Regions from separate parts of the Homo sapiens genome. Here region 2 is linked to region 1. The links are contacts of gene promoters, found by promoter capture Hi-C in blood cells and fetal thymus (Javierre and others, 2016). All regions are on one chromosome and are shown on one strand. Each heading gives the region's core, a stretch centred on a gene start or on the middle of the fragment in contact. The rest is flanking DNA. Distances are from core to core; before and after follow the strand shown. Region 1 holds the start of SPPL2C (signal peptide peptidase like 2C). Region 2 holds the start of LRRC37A3 (leucine rich repeat containing 37 member A3).

The links. Contacts are between HindIII fragments. The CHiCAGO score rates a contact against its expected background, and 5 or more counts as called.
Region 2: a contact is called between a fragment that was not itself captured here and the fragment with the promoter of SPPL2C in region 1, in 4 of 17 cell types (endothelial precursors, M0 macrophages, M2 macrophages and 1 more). The highest score is 13.4, in endothelial precursors.

The regions. Positions count from the first base shown.
Region 1 is chr17:45,841,777-45,848,198 of GRCh38, reverse strand. It overlaps SPPL2C (signal peptide peptidase like 2C), which reads right to left and starts at 3,318. Exons shown (of 1, transcript NM_175882.3): 1 at 1,132-3,318. The coding sequence starts at 3,292. The coding sequence ends at 1,238. It overlaps MAPT-AS1 (MAPT antisense RNA 1), which reads left to right. Exons shown (of 2, transcript NR_024559.1): 2 at 4,038-4,843. RefSeq lists enhancers at 1,428-2,411, 2,412-3,396. The HindIII fragment of the contact is 7,159 bases long and covers 1-6,355 here.
Region 2 is chr17:64,918,356-64,924,777 of GRCh38, reverse strand. It overlaps LRRC37A3 (leucine rich repeat containing 37 member A3), which reads left to right and starts at 5,300. Exons shown (of 15, transcript NM_199340.5): 1 at 5,300-5,347; 2 at 5,908-6,028. RefSeq lists enhancers at 3,898-4,397, 4,398-4,899, 4,975-5,475 and silencers at 5,091-5,310, 5,411-5,500, 5,571-5,950. The HindIII fragment of the contact is 2,201 bases long and covers 1,791-3,991 here.

The sequences.
Region 1 (6,422 bases), core at 2,069-4,568:
CCATTTCACACACAAGAAAACAGAGGCACTGAATGGATAAGTCATTTGCTCAGTGAGATACTCCAAGTCAGTGGTAGGGCTGGGATTTGTGGTAGGCAGCCTGGCTGTAGAACCCTAACCACTGAACCACACCGCCTCTTGGGATACACTTTCCTCCCCTCCAAAAACACCTCCTCCAGGAAGCCTTCTCACCCCAGAGTTTGTCTGCTCTGATTAAGCAACACATCAGCACCCTACATGGCCTAAAAGCCTGTAGAGTCCTTAGGAGGTCATCTCGTCCATGCCCCTGCCTCCAGATGGAAATGGTATTATAAGTCTCATTTTGCAGATGAGACTACAGAGACCCAACGAGGCTTGAACATTACTTAGAGTCAGTGAGGGAGGCCTTGGTCTCCGGAATTCTTCCACCCTGGGCCCAACCTCTCCAACCCCTCCCGACCTCTTTGAGACAATTCTAAGTTTGTTTCTTGTCTGCCCACCCCTCCCCCTCCCCCAGCTAGACAGAGGCCTTCCCTGTGCCCACCACATGGCGATGCACATAGTAGGGGCATACTCAATGCCTGAAGATGGAATGGGTGGTGCATACAGGAACTTGCTGGGCTTGGTGCTGCTGCCTGGGATTCTTGAACAGAGACGTTTTGCAGAATGGATGTGAGCTGAGGAGTAAAGGATGCTTCGGAATCTTCTAGTGAGTCAGGGAGCCAGGCTGGAGTGTTTCTGTCTGGAGAGGGAAGGGCATCCCAGCTGGAGGGAACAGCATATGCAGAGAGAGCGGGTGGGGAGGACAAGGAGTTCTGTTTGACCTGAGCATGGAGAGAAGATGGGCAATGAGCCTAGGGTGGGTGGCAGGGATGGGATGGGGGCTGTGTGCCAGGCTAAGAAGCTGCCACTCTGGATTGGGAAGGGGTTGGGCAAGCAGGCAGAGGGGAGTAGCTGCCCAGTGAGCCCTGGATGCAAATCCCGACCTTGCCGCTTGAACTTGTGCAAGTCATAGGCCCTCTTGGAGCCTCAGTTTCCCCCCTTCATTATTTGGGGGTGGTGCCCACTCCTAAGGACCCTTCGAGCCCTGCACACTCTTATTATGTGGTTGCTGCTCTCTTGCACTCCCGACAAACAGAGAGACTCCTTGGGTAGATATGAAATCTCTTTGATACCCTGATTTCTTGTTGCCATGCATGGCTTTGCTCTGCAATGTTCCACCAGCCCTTTGAGAGGCGTGTGTCCCAGTGCCTCCAGTTCACAAGGGAGCCTGGGTCGACATGCTCTTTCTTACTTTCAAACCCTTCCTCTTGTGGAGTCCCGCCCAGGGCAGGCCAGTCTCGTGGGCCTGGGCCTGGGCATGGACATGGCCCAGCTCTGAGGGCGGGGGCATCAGGGGCATGAGTGGGATCAGCATGGCCATTGGCATCAGTGGCATCAGCTCCTCCGAGGCCCCAGGGGGGATGAAGGGCAGCTCATTAGGATCCAAGTGGGCGTCACTCCAGCCCTCGGAGCTATCACTGCGGTCCTCTGGATTGGTGGCTTCATTCTCAGATATGGTGACAATCTCAGTGGTGTCTTCTCCAGGGTTGCTGTCTAAGTCCCCTGCTCCTCGGCTGGTGCCTCTCTCAAGTGTGCTGGCTGTGTGGGCATCTGCTGCGCCCTCCTGCTTCTGCCTAGAGCCAGCTGAAGGGGCACAGCCGAGCCCACACATCTTAGCTCTGCCCTGGCCAGTCCAGAAGAGGCTGAGCTCTTGGCGGCAGGCAGCCACAGCCAGGCTGGTGAGCAGGGTGCTGGACACTAGGTAGAGCAAGGCAGGTTGGCCCATCTGCATGAGGACCATGGCCATGAATGTGACCAGCAGGCCCACAGCATAGGCCACGGTGCAGGCCACGAAGTAGATCTGACGGGAGCAGACTTGCACATCAAAGCGGCAACAGTAAGCAACCAGGAAGCCGGGGACCACAATGTCACCGAAGCCAAGGATGGAGAAGGGCTGGCTGCACAGGGTCAAGGCGGAGACTCTTAGCCGGGGCACTTTGAGTACCATGGGCAGCCTCTCATGGCTTGAAGACTCTGCAGGGCCCAAGGCAACCTGCGCCATGATGCTCTCACCGGTTTTGGTGAAGAAGGGGGTGACGAAGACAAAGAAGACATCAAAGGCCAGCAGGGCCAGCAGGAAGGAGGAGCAGTTCTTGAGAGTGGGCAGCCGCACACGGTGCAGGACGAACAGGCAGTAGGAAATGCCCAGTGTGTCCTGCAGGAGCCACGCCCAGCGGTCCTCATTGCGGTAGGCCACCCAGAAGATGATCACGGTTGCGCACAGGCTCGCCAGCAGCAGCAGAGGCAGCGGCAGAGAGGCCCAGAGGCTGTGCGGAGGCCTCTGGTATTGCCGCAGGGACAGGCGGCACACCAGGGGTGACAGGCAGCTGTAGAGGCCAATGCCAGCACCCAGGCCAAAGATCCCAATGGTGACATAGACAAAGTGGTCATAGAAGAAGTAGAGCAGCAGCATGAGCGAGCAGGACAGGGTGACCACCACGCCTGTCATGGCCGGCGTGAAGTCCACTGGGATGTCCTCATTATCTTCCTTCTGGGCTCCCTCAGCTGCTGCAGCTTCCTGCAGCTGATGGTGACCACCAGACCCCCCTCCTCTTCGGGCACGGCGCCGCTGTAGCCGGTTGGCTTCGGTCAGGCCGGCCCAGTAGCCGCCTGCAGCCACTGTGCCCACAGCCAGGATGAAGATGACCAGCATGTTGTAGTCGATGATGGGCTCTGGGGGTGCGTACATGGCCACGCGGACGACGGCCTCCCCACGAGTGTGGCTGAGGATGTCCAGCATGTCAGCATAGTGGAGCATAGCCACAGGGATGGTGAGGTCTGCCAGGGGCTGGCGGGGATCCTGGGGTGCCAGGGTGGTGTCTGAGCACTGTTGGTCACTGACCCGGCTCACGATGAGCAGCCCGTGGGCACCTTGGCCCTGAGCCAGCCAGCCTTTCGTGTGGAAGCTGCAGTTACCCCTCATGACCATGGCAGTGGTCTGGCGGAGGGGCCGCTGGCTGGGGGAGCGGAGCTGGGCCTGGTGGGGGGAATCCTCACCCGGGCACCAGGGTGCCTTGGTGCCATCATACAGGGGCAGGAGTGGGGCGTGGTGCAGGTCCCGGGGGAGGGTGATGTAGTCGGAGCTGAACAGGATACAGTAGTCCTTGCTCCAATTCTCCGACACCACGTGGGCCACGCCGTACTTTCCCCCGGCCACGGTGCTGATGAGGAGGAGGAAGCCCACGGGGAGGAGGAAGCCCAGGCACGCCATCTTCTTCAGTTCCTACTGCAACATCTGCGGGCGGCAGCCCAATACCCCTCCCAGGGGCAGGCGTGGCCCTTTGTCACAGAGCAGTCTGGCCACCTGTCCTGGAAACCAGGGCCACACCTACCTAGTCATAAAGCTGTGTGGTCCCCAGCCGAGGGCGCTGCTGTGGGGCACAGGGTCCCTCTAGAATGATGCCCCCCAACCCTGGGAGACCAGGGGAGAGGTCATATGGACCCTGCTCTCTGCCCAGACCCTAGTGGGTTTAGACCAGGTACTTTGAAATAAAAGGTGTGAGCATGGGGTTTGCAGGCCAGATAGGATTCTGAACCAACTTTTCTCCTTACCCATGGGGAACACAGGCCAATGTCACTCCTCTCTAGGCCTGTTTCTTTAGCTGTAAAGAAATGAGGACGTTGGGCCAGAGAGTTTCTAAGGTCCCTTGGAGCTCTGAGCTCAGTAACATTGAGCACTTTTACCGAGGGCTTACTAGGCGCCAGGTACCCTAGCTGTACCTATTGCACAGTTGCAAGGAGGTGTCATTATATCTGCACAGCCTGAGGCTGTCCCTCAAAGTTGGTCCCCATTTCTACCAGGCACATGACCAGAATTCACCTCCAACTCCATTTACAGTTGGGAACGGACAGGTGACCAGGAGAAATTAAGCAAAAATGATGTGAACTCTTTACATCAGGGGCTTAGGCTGACAGACCGTGGGGCTCCTGGTTTACCCTCTCTTTCCCTTTCTCAGGAGTCAGAACAAGGACGGGCCTGTGATGTGTCTGTCTATGACGAGGAGGACAATGTCCTAAGGAATGGAGAGGAAGAAAGTGAAGGGAACCAGGTCCCTGGATTCCATGTGGAACAGTAGCCCAGGATGTGCACTATGGACTGTTACAAGAGAGAGACATGATCTTCCTTAAGGCATTGATTTGTCATGAGTCTCTTTGTTATAGCCACTTAACGTTACCTTAATACACCCACTTCATGGATAAGTAAAACTGAGGCTTGGAGAAGCCCACATTGACACAGCAAAGAAGGCTGGGGCTCTTGTGCTGGTTAAATGGACCTTGATGTCTTCCAAATGTTTTCATGCTGGATTCTGAGCCACTCTCCTGGCTGCAACTCTGAGGCCGGGCAGACTTTCCGCTGGAAAGAGAACTCAAATACTGGTGAGAGGTGGATTTGAAGCCAGGAGCCCCAGGTTTTGGCTCTGCAGGTTTGCACCCAGCTCTGTGGTGTATGCCCTCACAGGTCACCCAGGACCTCCTGTCCAGGCTTCTTCAGGCCACCCATGATGGAGTAGATTTGAGGAATGAGGTTTTCAAAGCAGTTAGTGTGCGGGAGAGTAACCCTGGGGCCTCCGGAACCAGAAGGGAGGGATTTGGGGGCTGGAGCTTGGCAGTCCAGGTTCCATTGTCCTCATGTTCTCCCCACTGGCCTGGCCTGTCACTCCAGTCTCTGCATAGGTTGTCACATGGCATTCTCCCTGTGTGTCTCTGTGTCTCTTCTCTTCTTTATAAAGACATAGTTATAATGGATTAGGGCCCACCCTAATGACACCATCTTAACTTGATTATGTCTGCAAACACCCTACTTCCAAATAAGGTCGCATTAACAGGTACTGGGGTTTAGGACTTCAACATGCCTATTTGGGGGCACAATTGTGGGCAGCCCCACAACACACATGTAATTTTAACCTCTAAGGAGTAAGCATGCTGATTTTTTTTTTTTTTTTTTTTTGAGACAGGGTCTTGCTCTGTTGCTCGGCTGGAGTGCAGTGGCACGATCTCAGCTCACTGCAAACTCCACCTCCTGGTTTCAAGCAATTCTCCCCCGACCCAGCCTCCCGAGTAGCTGGGATTACAGGTGTGTGCCACCATGCCCAGCTAATTTTTGTGATTTTAGTACAGATGGTGTCTCACCATTTTGCCCAGGCTGGTCTCGAACTCCTGGCCTTAAGTGAATCGCCCACCTCAGCCTCCCGAGGTGCTGAGATTACAGGCACAAGCCACTGTGCCTGGCCAATCACTGATCTTTCTCAAGGACTCTCCTTCTTTTCTCTTTGAGATGGAGTCTCACTCTGTCCCCTAGGCAGGCTGGAGTGCAGTGGCACAATCTTGGCTCACTGCAACCTCCACCTCCCAAGTTCAAGCGATTCTCCTGCCTCAGCCTCCCAAGTAGCTGAGATTATAGGCGCCCACCACCATACCTGGCTAATTTTTGTATTTTTAGTAGACATGGGGTTTCACCATGTTAGCCAGGCTGGTCTCAAACTCCTGGCCTCAGGTGATCCAGCCACCTTGGTCCCCCAAAGTGCTGGGATTACAGGCGTGAGCCACCGTGCCTGTCAAGGCCTCTCCTTCTATTACGGGTCCATCTCTTGCAGTCCCAAACTGCTTTCCTTGGGAAATCCACAGGGATGAAACATCATCTCCAACATCAGCTGTGGATTCTTTGAAGTGGAGGGTGAGTTTAAAGGGCCATGTGAAGTGGTCAGCAAGTGGAACCCATCTGAGATTCTGACAATTCTCTCTCACCCAGTTATTTACACTCATCTCACCCACACCTAATTTGCCAATATTTTTGGTGACTCATTTGTAAAGTATCCTTCAAAGCATTAGACTGAATTTTCATAAGAAACATCTCTCCTTGTTAGTGCACTTCTGATTCATCAGTAATATAACATTTAGTTAGATTACGACAGTAATTACAATGACAAGTGAACTGTCAGAAACATGTTCAGGAACAAATACAAGTGACTGGCAAACAAACCACCAGCCGGTGTGAGGAGAAGCAGGCAGAGCCCAGGGGAGGAGGCTGCCAGCTGTCCCTTCCGAGTGCTCCCATTTCAAAGGGGAGGTTGGCAGGAGGGTGGTTAGGAGAGGGAGGCTCGCCTGTAGGCCACAGGAGGGCTGTGACAGTAAAACCCTTTCTGGCCCCCCAGCAACGAATGGGCAACCTAGACCCTCACTCCAGGCCCTGTTCTCCACGCAGGGAGTCGTGGATCTTTTAAAAAACAAGAACCAGCACACCCACTTTGTCACAAAACCCAGACAATCACAAGCTTTGTCGAGGATATAGGGAAGTTGGGACCCTCATACACTGCTGGTGGGAATGGAAAATTGTGCAGCCG
Region 2 (6,422 bases), core at 1,642-4,141, about 19 Mb before region 1:
ATTTTTCCTTCTTTAAAAAAATTCGTCCAGCACAGTGGCTCACACCTGTAATCCCAGCAGTTTGGGAGGCCGAGGGCGGAAGATCACTTGCGTCCAGGAGCTCAAGACCAGCCTGGACACATGGTGAAACCCCATCTCTACTAAAAAATACAAAAATGAGCCAGGTGTGGTGACGCATGCCTGTAGTGCCAACTACTTGGAAGGCTGAGGTTGGAGGCTCCCTTAAGCCTGAGAGGTGAAGACTTCAGTGAGCTGTGATGGCACCACTGTGCTCCAATGTAGATGACAAAGTGAGACCCTGTTAAAACAAAACAAAACAAAACTTTTTTTTGGAGATAGGGCCTCACTTGATCGCCCCGGCTAGAGTACAGTGGTGCTATCATGGCTCACTGCAGGGTCGACCTCCTGGGGTCAAGCAGTCCCCTGGCCTCAGCCTCGCCAAGTAGCTGAGACTACAGGTGTGCATCACAACACCCAGCAAATTCCTTTTTGTAGAAACAGGGTTTTGCCATGTTGCCCAGGCTGGTCTCAAAATCCTGGCCTCAAGTGATCCACCCACCTCAGCCTTTTAGAATGCTGGGATTACAGGCTGTGAGCCACAACTCTCTTGGCCTATAAATGATAATTTAAGTGAATCTCTGAAGCTACAGTTTTTTGTTTCGACATGGAGTCTCGCTCTGTCGTGCAGTGGCATGATCTCGGCTCACTGCAACCTCCGCCTTCTGGGTTCAAGTGATTCTCCTCCCTCAGCCTCCCAAGCAGCTGGGATTACAGGTGCCTGCCACCATGCCTGGCTAATTTTTGCATTTTTAGTACAGACGGGGTTTCGCCCTGTTAGCCAGGCTGGTCTCGATCTCCTGACCTCAAGTGATCCTTTCACCTCAGCCTCCCAAAGTGCTGGGATTATAGGCATGAGCCATTTCGCCCAGCCTCTGAAGCTATAGTTTTATAGATTCTAAAGCAGAGACTTCATATAGCTGTCTATGAAAAGCCAAAAACAAACAAAAAACCCACAGAAAAACCTGATTCCCCACGCCAAAATTTCAAGGATTTGCCTAAAGGTAAGGTCCATCTGTACCTGAAATAAAGTTTGCTGTGCCTCTTTTTTTGCAGGGTCACCCAGCCCTATGCACCAATTATACTAGTAACAATCATTACATGAGTACCTCAGGAAGCTTTTAAATATATCACAAATATTTTACCAAATAAACCTGAATGGCCCTGGTTTAATGAAACTGTTTCTCTGTCTATAGACTATCTAGTCTTATAAAGTCAAAAGAGAAGCAATGTGACAAATTATTCAACAGCCCTTCTCTATTTATAGAGAGAGACTGAACTTCTTCCTTGGTTAGAAAGAAAACCTTGAGTTTCATTTCCTAGTTCATATATTTTTATAACATCGTGGGACAGATTTTGGGAAAACCAAGATGGTATAGCGGGCGCACACTTTGATCCTCCCTCTCCCTTCAAGAACATACAAGTGAGAGTAAAATATAAAAAAGAGAAATTGAAAAGACATAGTCATGCTTAAATAAGTTACAACAATCTCAACGGAACAGACACAAAACTGTGAGCAGGACTAAAACTGCAGGCCTTCTAGACTCCAGATGCAGAAGGAGGAAGTGGTGGCTGAACACTAACAGTATGAGTTTCTCGGGGATAAGGGAGGCTAACATGCTGTGTGTGAGGCAGTGATAAGCGCTGGCTCCCTGCTGGAAGTTAAGGGTTGACTGGGCTACACTGGGCTTCAGGAGAGAAGAAAACAACACTCCTCTCACTCAAAATAAGCTTGCAAAATTCAAATGTTTGAAAATGAAAATGTGTAATATGAAAAAAAGATAACCAGGGCCCATACGGTGGCTCATGCCTATAATCCCAGCACTTTGGGAAGTCAAGGAAGGAAGATCACTTGCTTGAGCCCAGGAGTTTGAGACCAGCCTGGGCAACATGGCAAAACCTTGTCTCTACAAAAAAACAATGACAACAACAATAACAACAAAAAACACCCCAAAATTAGCCAGAGATGGTGGCAGGGCACGCGCCTGTAGTCCCAGCTACTTGGGAGCCTGAGGCGGAAGGACTTACTGATCTGGGTAGGGGGAGGCTGCGATGGGGTGTGATTGCACCACTGCACTGCAGCCTAGGAAAAAGAATAAGGCCCTGCTTCTCAAAAAGCAAAAAAAAAAAAAAGCCAATAAAATCAATGGTCTAATCTGAATTCACTCCAAATGAAATTATAGAGCAATTTGACAGGCCGGGCATGGTGGCTCACACCTGTAATCCCAGCACTTTGAGCGGCTGAGGAGGGAGGATCACTTGAGGTCAGGAGTTCAAGACCAGCTTGGCTAACATGGTGAAACCCCGTCTCTACTAAAAATACAAAAAAAGCTGGGCATGGTGGCAGGTGCCTGTAATGCCAGATACTCAGGAGGCTGAGGCAGGAGAATTGCTCCAACCCGGGAAGCGGAGATTGCAGTGAGCAGAGGCAGCCCTACGCCCTCCAGCCTGGGCAACAGAGCAAGACTCCATTTAAAAAAAAAAAATTAACCCTATTTAAAAAAAGAGGCAGAAATAAAAATAGGTAGATGTAAAGAAGGAATCACATATCTTATAAACTAAAAAGAAAATAAAATGTATTTTTAAAATATGCCAGTACTTATACATATTTGAAACTTTAGCAGAGACGGAGTTTCCTCATGTTGGTCAGGCTGGTCTTGAACTCAAAAGCAAATTACCTTAGCAATAATGTGTTTTTGTTTTTGAGACAGAGTCTCACTCTGTCGCCCAGGCTGGAATGTGGTGGCGCGATCTCGCCTCACTGCAACCTCTGCCTTTTAGGTTCAAGCGATTCTCTTGCCTGAGTCTCCGGAGTAGCCAGGACTACAGGTGTGCGCCACCACGCCCAGCTAATGTTTGTATTTTTGTAGAGATGGGGTTTCACTATGTCAGCCAGGCTGGTCTTGAACTCCTGGCGCCATGTGATTCACCTCCCTTGGCCTCCCAAAGTGCTGGGATTACAGACGTGAACCATTGCACCCGGCTCCTTCTTTCCCAAAGTATAATTTTTCTTCCTCATTAGATTGTTTTTGTATAAAATGTGTTTATATATGAACACATGCATTAAAACAATATATACAAGATATATTCTAAAGTTGTTTAAAAATGATTGTCTTTGGGGTTTAGATTTAGAGATCACTTTTATTTGTTGGCTTTGAAGTGCAACTGACCTATTTATTTACATATAAAGGATATAAACTACAAATATTTTCCCACTCTGTACAGAATGTGGAATGGAAACAGTGCATGGCACACCTTAAGTGTTAAATAAACATTTCCTGAGTGAATTGAATGGATACATCACACTATATATACACTAGTCTGTAATTTGGATTTTTTGTTCAAGCACTTGTCATTGGCAATTTCCTCCAAATAATTAAAAAATGAAAAACACCAATCCCACATTATTTTCTTAAAATGGAAGTACATTTTTTGGATATTCCAAAATGTATTCCAGTGGTTCTCAGCCGGAAGTGGTTCTGACACCTCCTAGTGGGAATGTATGGGGAGCGGGCAAGGTTACCTTTTTGGTTGTAAAAATGATGAGGCTGGTACTAGCCTTTGGTATCCGGGCCCAGAGATGCTAAACTTCTTCCTACAGTGTGTAAACTGGCTTGTCCAAAAGGCCAAAGCGCTTCTGTTGAGAAACACTGATGACCAATCTCCTCTATGTGGTCCTGTGAGACTGTGAAACACGTATTTGATCTTCCTGGTTCCTGGCATACAATTCCTAAAACCCTCAGAATCTGCAAAATAAGTCTTTTTTTTATGCTAATGATTGACTGATTAGGCTTTCCTAGACAGCCTCAGGATTGGGGCTGGTGGTCAGGGCTTTCAGTGCCACTCTCAACCTCTGAGAAAGAGAGAGAGGCTGAAGGTTAAGCTGACCACCAACGGCCAACGGTGTAATCATTAATGACTCTGTAATGAAGCTTCCATAAAAACCCAAATTGAGGCCGGGCACAGTGGCTCACGCTTGTAATCCCAGCACTTTGGAAGACTGAGGTGGGTGGATTACTTGAGGTCAGGAGTTGGAGGCCAGCCTGACCAACATGGTGAAACACCGTCTGCACTAAAAGTACAAAAAATTATCCAGGCATGGTGGCACACGCCTGTAATCTCAGCAACTCGGGAGGCTGAGTCATGAGAATCGCTTGAACCTAGGAGGCAGGCTCAATGTTTATCTTGTAACTGACTATGTTACTGAATTATAATTTTTTTTTTGAGACCTAGTCTCATTCTGTCACCCAGGCTGGAGTGCAGTGGCGTTATCTTAGTTCATTGCAACCTCTGCCTCCCAGGTTCAAGCGATTCTCGGGCCTCAGCATCCCGAGTAGCTGGGATTACAGGCATGCACCACCACGTCCGGCTAATTTGTTTGCAATTGTAGAAAAGACAGGGTTTCACCATGTTGCCCAGACTGGTTTGAACTCCTGGCCTCAAGTGATCTGCCCGCCTCGGCCTCCAAAGTACTGGGATTAGAGGTGTGAGCCACTCAGTCCAGACAACATTTATTTCTTTATTCATTTCACCAGTTGGCATGGTTTCCAGACTTTTCTTGATTTATTTTATTTTATTTTTTGAGAAGGAGTCTCACTCTTGCAGCCCAGGCTGGAGTACAATGGCGCAATCTTGGCTCACTGCAACCTCCACCTCAGGGGTTCAAGCGATTCTTCTGCCTCAGCCTCCTCAGTAGCTAGGATTACAGGCACCCGCCACCATGCCCAGGTAATTTTTGTATTTTTAGTAGAATTTAGGAGTTTCCTAAATTCTGGGGGCTTGTCTCCCTGTTCCCCCACCCCGACTAATTTCCCTCGGTCGCTGGCGCTGCCCCGTCCCTTAGGTCGCTCGGGCCGCCCCACTCCGAGACTTTTTTTTTCTTTCGCTGGCTCTTTCAGCTTCAGTTTCCCTAGGGGGCGGGAGGGGAATATTTGGGGGCTCTCCTGCCTTCCTCTCCGAGCCGCGGAAGGGGAGACGCAGGGAGGAGGTCCGGCCGGCTTTGGGCTCCAGCCAGGGGTCCGCGGAGACTATGGTCTCCGAAGGCCTTAGCCGCGGGGCATTTCGCGAGCTGCGCGTCTCTCTCAACGGCGCCACCGCGCCCGGAGTCCAGCCGCGCCGCGCTGCGCCCAGCCCCGGCGCCCCAGGCTCTCCGCCCCCGACTCAATGCTCCCGCGCTCCCCCTAGCGGCCGCCGCGCCACCTCGCCCCGTCCCAGGCTCGTAGGCTGCTCAGCTCACGTGACCGCGCTCCGGTAACGGAAGAAACAAGATGGCGGCTGAAGGCGATCCGCAGTGAGGCCCCAGCCATTCGGATTGAGCCTTCTCCCTCCAACCGCTTCCGCAGGCCGGGCCCCTCCTGCCCTGCCCCTCTGGCCTCCCCACCCGGCCCCGGCCGCCCCCACTGCGCCCATTGCGCCCGCCCCTTCCCGGCCGCTTTCCCTTCTCCCTCCGCCTCGGTTCCAACATGAGGGGCCGGCGGGGCAGGCCGACCAAGCAGCCCGCGGCTCCCTCTGCGGAGCGCTGCGCCCCGGCCCCGCCGCCGCCGCCGCCGCCCACGTCCGGACCCATCCGGGGTTCCGCTCGCGGCACCGCGGCAGCAGCCGGGGCAGGTGGGCCGCCGCCCAGGCTGAGGTGGCGCCCAAGACGCGGCTGAGCTCGCCCAGGGGGGGCAGCAGTAGCCGGAGAAAGCCGCCGCCGCCGCCAGCCCCACCCCAGCACCAGCGCCCCGGCCGGGGGGAGGCGGGGGCAGCCACCTGGCCCGGACAGCTGCAGGTCCGGACGGCCGTCAACAAAGTGGTGTAGTCACTACAGGTGCTCGCTGCCACACCCAGCTAATTTTTTGTATTTTTTAGTAGAGATGGAGTTTCACCGTGTTGCCCAGGCTGGTGTCGAACTCCTGAGCTCAGGCGATCCGCCCGCCTCAGCTTCCCAAAGTGTTGGGATTATAGGCGTGAGCCACTGCACCTGGCACAGGTATATGTATGTATTTTTTACAAAATTGGATGAAGTATAATTTATTTGTTAAATATTTTCACTTATGCCATGATATCTTATTTAATCTTTAATTTGTCTATGAAAATACCTGCTCTGCTAGGGGGCTTCTAGTTGAAAACTCATTAATTTAAAAAATTAATTTTGAATTCAGCCACCTATTCTTTTTTCTAATTGTTTCTTGTAGCTTTTGCTTTGATTGGAATAACTTTATTCTAGGAATAAAGTTTTGTCATCTGCAAACATGAATCATGTACACATCTGATTTTCTTATATTTATGTCTCCTTTTTCTCTTCAAATTACATTGCCTTTACCATTGATGGGAACCTGGGTAATAAAGAAAAAAGAAAAAAATTGCATTCCCTACCACCTCCT